3 separate regions of the Homo sapiens genome follow, and regions 2 and 3 are each linked to region 1. Evidence: promoter capture Hi-C in human tissues and cell types (Jung and others, 2019). All regions are on one chromosome and are shown on one strand. Each heading gives the region's core, a stretch centred on a gene start or on the middle of the fragment in contact. The rest is flanking DNA. Distances are from core to core; before and after follow the strand shown. Region 1 holds the start of CREB3L3 (cAMP responsive element binding protein 3 like 3). Region 2 holds the start of TMIGD2 (transmembrane and immunoglobulin domain containing 2). Region 3 overlaps SH3GL1 (SH3 domain containing GRB2 like 1, endophilin A2).

Region 1 (2,700 bases), core at 64-2,563:
TTTGAGCCCAGGAGTTTGAGACCATACTGGCCAACACAGTAAGACCCCATCTCTATAAAAAAAAAAAAACAAAATTAGCCAGGTGTGGTGGTGCACGCCTGCAGTCCTAGCTACTTGGGAGGCTGAGACGGGAGGATCACTTGAACCCAGGAGTTGGAGGCTGCAGTGAGCTATGATCCTGCCACTGCACTCCAGCCTGGGCAATAGAGTGAGACCCTGTCCTCCACCAACACCAAAAAAAAAAACAAAAAAACAAAACAGGGCTCCTCTCTCTTGGTAGGGGGTGGAGGGGAGGTCAGAGACACCTCTCAGCCACCCGGGCTGATTCACAAATATCGAACATTCACTAAAATGTCAATACAGTGACCTAGAGCCAGAGGGGAAGAGGGAGGGTACAAGAGGAGAGTTCCAGGCAGAGGGGCGAGCAGGTGAGTAGGTGCAAAGGCCCTAAGCAGGAACCAGTTTGGCTCCATAAATATTTGTTGACTCAATGAACGATAGAAGATTCTAGAGAGAATTGATTGCACAGAATCACCCATGGGGACTCAGAGGCGGAGTCCAAGCTGGTTTCGGAGGGGGCTGGGGGCCGGAGGTTGGCAGGTGGGGTGAAGGATGGGAGCCGCTAGCTGCTGGCAGGAAAACTGGCTTCAGTGAAGATCTGGTCTGGTCCTCTTGGTTTGTTTCTGTCCAGGGAGTGGACAGGACCCATGTAAGGGCCCTGGGCTATCCCAGAACCCATCTGGGAATTCTGAAGAGAAAAAGTCCTGTAACTGGCCGGGTGCGGTGGCTCACGCCTGTAATCCCCGCACTTTGGGAGACTGAGGGGCCGATCACGAGGTCAGGAGTTCGAGACCAGCCTGGAAAACATGATGAAACCTCGTCTCTACTAAAAATACAAAAGTTAGCCGGGCATGGTGATGGGGACCTGTAGTCCCAGCTACTCGGGAGGCTGAGGCAGGAGAATCACTTGAACCCAAGAGGCAGAGGTTGCAGTGAGCCGAAATGAGATGGCACCACTGCACTCCAGCTTGGGCCACAGAGCGAGACTCCGTCTCAAAAAAGAAAGAAAAAAAGAAAAAGTCCTCATAAGTAGGGCAGAGGTCACGGCAGAGTGGAGGTACCCCAGACTTCGACCTTTGCTCACTGAGGGCTGGAAAACCACAAAACACCCAGATAACGGTCTTCCCTCCCCTGCTCCTGCCTGCCCCAGTGTCACTGGCCCTCAACCCTGTCTCTCCACCCTGTCCACCAATCAGCACCTGGAGGTGGGCTGGGAGCTGCCTGTGACCGCTTCAGCATCTTTTGGGAGTGGTGACAGAGCCACAGAGGGCTGTGAGCTTGCCCGGCCCCAGGTAACGCTGGCGGTGGGTGGGCCTCCAGCTTGGAGCAGAGACCCCCCGAGGCATCTGCAGACAGAACTGGATGGACCCATGAATACGGATTTAGCTGCTGGAAAGGTGAGCCCTACTAGGTCCCCAGGGAGAGCGGGAGTCTAGGCTGGGAAAGCCTACCCAAGCTGCCAGAGCTGGAAGGACCCCATCTCCACCCCTATTGTACAGATGGGAAGACTGAGGCCCAGAGAAAGGATGCAATGAGCAAAACTGTGTGCCTTTGCCCCGGGGCTGCCCTTGTCTTTCTTCCAGGTCCCCCTGCCTCCTAGGAGCGGGCACTTGGGGAGGCTGTGAAGGCCTGAGAGGCAAGCGGCATCTCTAGCTAGGGCCTCTCTCCAGCACTTTTTATTTTATTTTATTTTATTTTTATTTTTATTTTTTGAGATGGAGTCTCCCTCTGTCACCCAGGCTAGAGTGCAATGGCACGATCTCAGCTCACTGCAACTTCCACCTCCTGGGTTCAAGAGATCTTCCTGCCTCAGCCTCCCAAGTAGTTGGGATTACAGGTGTGCACCACCACGCCCGGCTAATTTTTGTACTTTTCCTAGAGACAGGGTTTCACCATGTTGGCTAGGCTGGTCTCAAACTCCTGACTTCAGGTGAGCTGCCCGCCTCGGCTTCCCAGAGTGCTGGGATTACAGATGTGAGCCACCGTGCCTGCCATACTTTTTTGTTTTTTGAAACAAGGTCTTGCTCTGTGACCCAGGGTGGAGTGCAGTGGGGTGGCCATAGCTCACTGCAGCCTCAACCTCCTGGGTTCAAGGGATCCTCCTACCTCAGCCTCCCCAGTAGCTGGGACGACAAGTGTGTGCCACCGCAGCCAGCTAATTTTTTTAAATTATTTGCAGTAGGGATAGGGGTCTCTATGTTGCGCAGGCTGGTCTTGAACTCCTGGGCTCAAGTGATCCTCCTGCCCCGGCCTCCCAAAGTGCTGAGATTACAGGCATGAGCCACCACATCCAGCCTCTCCAGCACTTTAAGAGAAATTGGCTCTCACACTGTGGAATTCTCTCTATCAGCCTCAAAGTCCAGATTTGGAAAGGGAGTCTCAGCGAGGGGCAGCAGCTGGCCCAACCCGGAGGCAGAGCGGCAACTGAACTCTAGCCGGAAAGAGCCAGGGTTATGTGCACATGGGAGGTGGGGAGGACAGGGGCTGTATGTGACCCTCACATCTGTTCCTCGCGCCCCAGATGGCTTCTGCTGCCTGCTCCATGGACCCCATCGACAGCTTTGAGCTCCTGGATCTCCTGTTTGACCGGCAGGACGGCATCCTGAGACACGTGGAGCTGGGCGAGGGCTGGGGTCACGT
Region 2 (2,700 bases), core at 146-2,645, 150 kb after region 1:
ATGGGGTCTCACTCTGTTGCCCAGGTGGGAGTGCAGTGGTGTGATCTCGGCTCATTGCAACCTCTGCCTCCCAGGTTCAAGTGATTCTTGTGGCTCAGCCTCTTGAGTAGCTGGGACTACAGGCACTCGCTACCACGCCCAGCTAATTTTTGTATTTTTGGTAGAGATGGGGTTTCACCAACATGGCCAGGCTGGTCTGGAACTCCTGACCTCAAGTGATCCACCTGCCTCAGTCTCCAATTTAAGTTTTAATAAAAAGACCTTGGTTGGGTGTGGTGGCTCATGCCTGTTATCCCAGCCCTTTGGGTGGCCAAGACTGGGTGATTGCTTGAGGCCAGGAGTTCAAGACCAGCCTGGGCAACATAGTGAGACCCATCTCTAAAAAACAAAAATGACTGGGCACGGTGGCTCACGCCTGTAATCCCAGCACTTTGGGAGGCCAAGGTGGGTGGATCATGAGGTCAGGAGTTCGAGACCCACCTGGCCGAGATGGCGAAACCCCGTCTCTACTAAAAATACAAAAAAAATTAGCCAGGCGCAGTGGCGCGCGCCTGCAGTCCCAGCTACTCGGGAGCCTGAGGCAGGAGAATCTCTTGAACCTGGGAGGCAGAGGTTGCAGTCAACCGAGATCGCGTCACTGCACTCTAGCCTGGGTGACAGAGCAAGACTCCTTCTCAAAACAAAACAAAACAAACAAACAAAAAAACACAAATGAACAACAAAAAAGTGCAAGCGGCTGGAATCAGAGGAGAGGGAAAGAGGAATGGAGGTTTTCGCCCCAGGAAATGTGTGAAGGGCAGCAGCCTTTGTCCTTAATTGGAAACACAGAGGGAGCTGCTGCCGGAGTAGAAAGTCTGCTTTTAGCTGTGAGAAGTCTGACGTGTCTGTTAGACCCCCGGAGAAGTTGAGGTTATGTGAAGTTCCTGGCATTTGAGATGCAATTGCAGAGGAGGGTAGAGACATGAGATCTGGAGAAGGGTATTAGGCAGCTGGAACAGCAGGTGCAAAGGCTCGAAGGCCAGATCCAGCCTTCCCATTGCGGAAACAGAGAAAGAAAAGTCCCCAGGCTAGAGCAAGAGGGAGGGAGCAAAGGCACTGCGGAGGGTGGAGATGAGAGAGGCCAGGCCAGGCTGGTATGTAGGGCAAGGTTTAGATTGTATCCTAGGGGCCCTCAGAGGATCCTTCCTTAATCCTCCAGCCCCCATCACGTTCTGAGTCTCGGAGGGAGATGGGCCTTATCTGACAGTAGAGAGACTGAAGTTTAGAGGGGCCCTGAGCTGGGGGGCAGGCAGCTGGGGATGACAGCAAGAGTGGGGTTCAGAGGGGAGGGAGGCCCAGATACTCACCCCAGATCTGCACCAGGAGGCCCAGCACCATGCCCGGGGACCCCATTCCTGGCCCATCACCCCCCTCTCCCCCTCCCAGTTGACAGACTTCCTGCCACAATCTCCGCCTCCCGCTGCAGAAGCAGATGCAACACCCAGGGCCAGACAACAGACGTCCGGTGTTCCAGCCTGCTGGGGGCTCCACTTCCTGCCACCTCGTGCCTCAGTTTCCCCAATGCATTTTCTATCTGAAAGGCAGTGTACGGACCAGGCAACATGGCTCATGTCTGTAATCCCAGCACTTTGGGAGGCCGAGGCAGGTGGATCACCTGAGGTCAGGAGTTCGAGACCAGCTTGGCCAACATGATGAAACCCCTACTAATTTCTACTAAAAATACAGAAATTAGCTGGACATGGTGATGGGCGCCTATAATCCCAGCTACTTGGGAGGCTGAGGCAGGAGAATGGCTTAAACCCGGGAGGCGGAGGTTGCAGTGAGCCAAGATCACGCCACTGCACTCCAGCCTGGGCGACAAGAGTGAAACTCCGTCTCAGAAAAAAAGAAAAGAAAGGCAGTGTATGCAAGTGAGTGGGAGGAATCCACCCCTGTGAGCTTTCTGGAAGGCTCTACATAAACACATCTAGGTACAGGAAGACACAGTGCGAGAGCAGGTGGCTCCGTGGGGGAGGGGCAGGCGACATAGGCCTGAGCAGTGAGTTAAATGACAGGGTCCCTGCCTCAATTATTTTGCTCCCAAAATGTCTTTCTTTTGCTGGGCGCTGTAGCTCACACCTGTAATCCCAGCACTTTGTGAGGCTGAGGTGGGAGGATCACTTGAGCCGAGTTTAAGATCAACCTGGGGTAACACAGCGAGATCCAATCTCTATTAAAAAAAAAAAAAAAAAAAAAAAGATACAGGCTGGGCATGGTGGCCCAGGCCTGTAATCCCAGCACTTTGGGAGGCCAAGGCGGGTGGATCACCTGAGGTCAGGAGTTCAAGACCAGCCTAGCCAACATGGCAAAACCCGGTCTCTACTAAAAATACAAAAATTAGCTGGGCCTAGTGGTGGGCGCCTGTAGTCCCAGCTACTCAGTGGGGTTGAGGCAGGAGAATCGCCAGAACTGGGGAGATGGAGATTACAGGGAGCCGAGATCCTGCCACTGCACTCCAGCCTGGGCGACAGAGTGAGACTGTGTCTCAAAAAAAAAAAAAAAGATACAAAACCAACCCAGGGTGATGGTGCATGCCTATAGTCCCAGCCACTCGGGAGGCTGAGGCAGGAGAACCGCTTGAGCCCAGGAGTTGGAGGCTGCAGTAAGCCATGATTGCGCCCCGTTACTCCAGCCTGGGCAACAGAGTGAGTCCGTCTCTAA
Region 3 (2,700 bases), core at 75-2,574, 210 kb after region 1:
AGGTGGGTGTGGGCTGTGAGGCCTGCACTCCTCTGCCCTGGCAGACTGCAGCCCCCACATCTCCTCCCCACCCTTGCTTCCTGTGCCTGTGGACAGCCTAGGCCACACAAAGCACAGTGGAATCCCCAGAGGGTCCCTTCCCTGCTCCTGCTAGCCTCAAAGGAGCTGGCAGCGGGTGGAGAGGTGACCAAGCTCCTCAGGGGGCAAAACCTCCTCCTTCCAAGGGCTGCTCCTCTTGGAACGTGGCTATGACCCCTCATCTGGGGGGTGCCAGGGAGGAGGCGCAGCAGTGATGTGCAGCGGGGGGTGGTTGAGGCCAAGGCTCCCGGGGTGGGTGATGAGCTGTGTCCCTTCCGCTGCCCGCTTGGGTCTGCTCCTGGCAGGGCCTGAGTGGACACTGCTGGGTGTGCGTCTGCCCCCTGTCCGTGGCCTCCTATGGAGCCAGCATTTGGGTTTTCCTTGGGGAAAAGCCCGTCTCTCAGCCAGGGAGACCCAGTCCCAAGCCCAAGAGGTGAAGTCCAGGCCAGGGGCACTGGGGAGGGGCGGCCAATACAAATGGATCCCACAAGTAAGCTGGGGGAGAGGCTCCCTGCCAGGACTGCTGGCTGGAAGAGGGGTTGAAGGCTGGGACGGCCCTGAGGAACCAGTCGGCATGAGAGTGAAGCCAACAGAGGGGCTGAGCTGCTGGTTGAGGTGGAAAGGCAGCATGCAGCACCAAGGATGGCCTCTGCACTCCGGGATCCAGCTGTGCCTGAAGCCCACAACCCATGAGCCTGGCGGTTCTGTCATCCCCTGCCTTCCCTCTGACACAGAGGCCAGAGGGCCTGGGGCAGGCCCTGGCAGTGGCTGGAGCACCCACCTGGGTTGGGCTGCAGGTACTCGATGGTCCTGGCCAGCACTTCTGTCACCGCCTTGCTGGTGACATCCACCTTCTGTGAAGAGAAGCAGCATATAAGACTCCACAGCCAGTGGGGGCCCAAGGCACACAAGACCCCCGCTGCTGCACCGCCTCCTGCCCTAAGAGCCCATACCAGGACCCCCCAACCCCCTCTCCATGTCTTCAGCTCAGCCATGTCCCCACAGCTGCCTGCCCACGGCAGGGGAGAGAGCTGGTGCCCGTCAAGTCCAGCTGACGAGGCCCCCACACCACCCCATCTCTCCACACCTGCCGGGCCCCATCACTCCAGACCCAGGCCCATCAAGGTTGGCCGCCTCCACTATGCCCGGCAGAGGTCAGGCCCCAGCAGTGCCACCACCACACAGAGCACGCAGTTTCTTCCTCACCTTCTCCATCTCTTTGAAGTCATCATCCAGCTTGGTCCCCTCGGCCCCTCCGACCTTCTCACTGACCAGCTAGAGGACAGAAGAGGGGAAACGCTGTGAGCCCAGGGGTAGGAGGAAGAAGAGGACAGGAGGCCCTGAGCCGCCTTCCAGCCACATCGCATCCACAGCTGGAGGCAGGAGGCCAAGTGATCAGGACACACACCTCAGGCACTGCCGTGGGCACCCCAGGGCCACACGCTGCCTGCAGAGCAGGGTGGGCCTGCAGGGGGAGGGGGAGGGTGGGGGTGGCCTGCCCACCTGTGTGTGTCCCGACTGCCACTCACATACCCACTGGGGACCCTGCCACAGTAGGCCCCATCTGGGCCACGGTGGAGTCCAGAGCCTCAGCCTGAGAACACATGGCTCAGAAGACACTGCTTCCAGAAGCGCCTACACAAACATCCCCACAGATAGCAATGTGGGGATCTGCCCCCATCCTTGAGTATGTGGGGTCTACTTAAAAAAAAAAATCCTGCCAGCTTGGCTGGGAGAGGCAGCAGGAGCTGACAGTTACGAGAAGAGGTGCAGGCAGCCGGGCAGGGAGGCCGCCATTCTCCTGTGCTCTGGTGCCCGTGTCTGCAGGATGGGACAGCCCAGCCCTTGCCCCATGTGGACACTGAGTTTCACAAGGCAGTCAACACAGGCCTGGCACACCTTGGTCCTCACGGCTCTCAGCTACGGTGAAAGCGATGACAATGACAGGCACTTACAGCGTCTTTCCTCGTGTGGTGGGAAGGCAGAAGCAAGCACTGAATTCCCAAACCACTCCCTCTGACAGCGCCTGGGATGCGAAAAACAGCCCTGAAATGTCCCATGGAACATGGCGGGAACCACTGAACCCCAGCACCGCTGTCTGAGCACAGGCGTTGCTTTCTTCACCCCACGTATCCCATGTGTGCCTGGCGCCAAGGGATGCCGCACAGAGTGAGGATGGACAGTGTGAGGCCCTTCCCAGCACACAGCGCTTCATGAAGAGCCGAGTGGCTGCCAGGCCCTGCCACAAATGGAGGCTCCCAGAGGGAGGCCGCCTGAGGTCACAAGCTTGGCCCTGCCCTCTGGGGGCCAAGTGTCACAGGGTGTGCCATCTCTGAAGTCATCGGCAAATTTAACATCCCGGGTCTGATCACTTGTGTGAAGACGTGCACACACGGCCTGGGCAGGAGAGTGAGGTGTTGCGTGCCGTGGGCCATGGCCTGTGCCCCTGGTGCTCCCCAGGTCTGATTGGTGCTTGCCTGCCCCGAGCTGTCACAAGACGTGGCCAAGGGATGCCATGAGGGTCCGTGTGGTGCCACACTGCGTTGGCTGTGTGGGGCTGGGGGGTGTCCAGCAGGGCAGTCAGGAGTTTAGGACCCAGCCTGGGAGGAAGTGACCCAAGAG

The links. Contacts are between HindIII fragments. The study calls those that stand out against the background at their distance.
Region 2: a contact is called between the fragment with the promoter of TMIGD2 here and the fragment with the promoter of CREB3L3 in region 1, in 4 of the 25 tissues and cell types used here (dorsolateral prefrontal cortex, lymphoblastoid cells, mesenchymal stem cells and 1 more).
Region 3: a contact is called between a fragment that was not itself captured here and the fragment with the promoter of CREB3L3 in region 1, in 4 of the 25 tissues and cell types used here (dorsolateral prefrontal cortex, mesenchymal stem cells, psoas muscle and 1 more).

What each region holds. Positions count from the first base shown.
Region 1 is chr19:4,152,318-4,155,017 of GRCh38, forward strand. CREB3L3 (cAMP responsive element binding protein 3 like 3) reads left to right here and starts at 1,314. Exons shown (of 10, transcript NM_032607.3): 1 at 1,314-1,457; 2 at 2,582-2,700. The coding sequence starts at 1,431. The HindIII fragment of the contact is 37,156 bases long and covers 1-2,700 here.
Region 2 is chr19:4,300,994-4,303,693 of GRCh38, forward strand. It overlaps TMIGD2 (transmembrane and immunoglobulin domain containing 2), which reads right to left and starts at 1,396. Exons shown (of 5, transcript NM_001169126.2): 1 at 1,347-1,396. The coding sequence starts at 1,392. RefSeq lists an enhancer at 857-1,402. The HindIII fragment of the contact is 29,023 bases long and covers 1-2,700 here.
Region 3 is chr19:4,365,642-4,368,341 of GRCh38, forward strand. SH3GL1 (SH3 domain containing GRB2 like 1, endophilin A2) reads right to left here. Exons shown (of 10, transcript NM_003025.4): 2 at 1,285-1,353; 3 at 860-932. Among named protein-coding and RNA genes, the nearest start is that of MPND, 23 kb to the left of the region's middle. RefSeq lists an enhancer at 281-1,202. The HindIII fragment of the contact is 3,201 bases long and covers 1-2,700 here.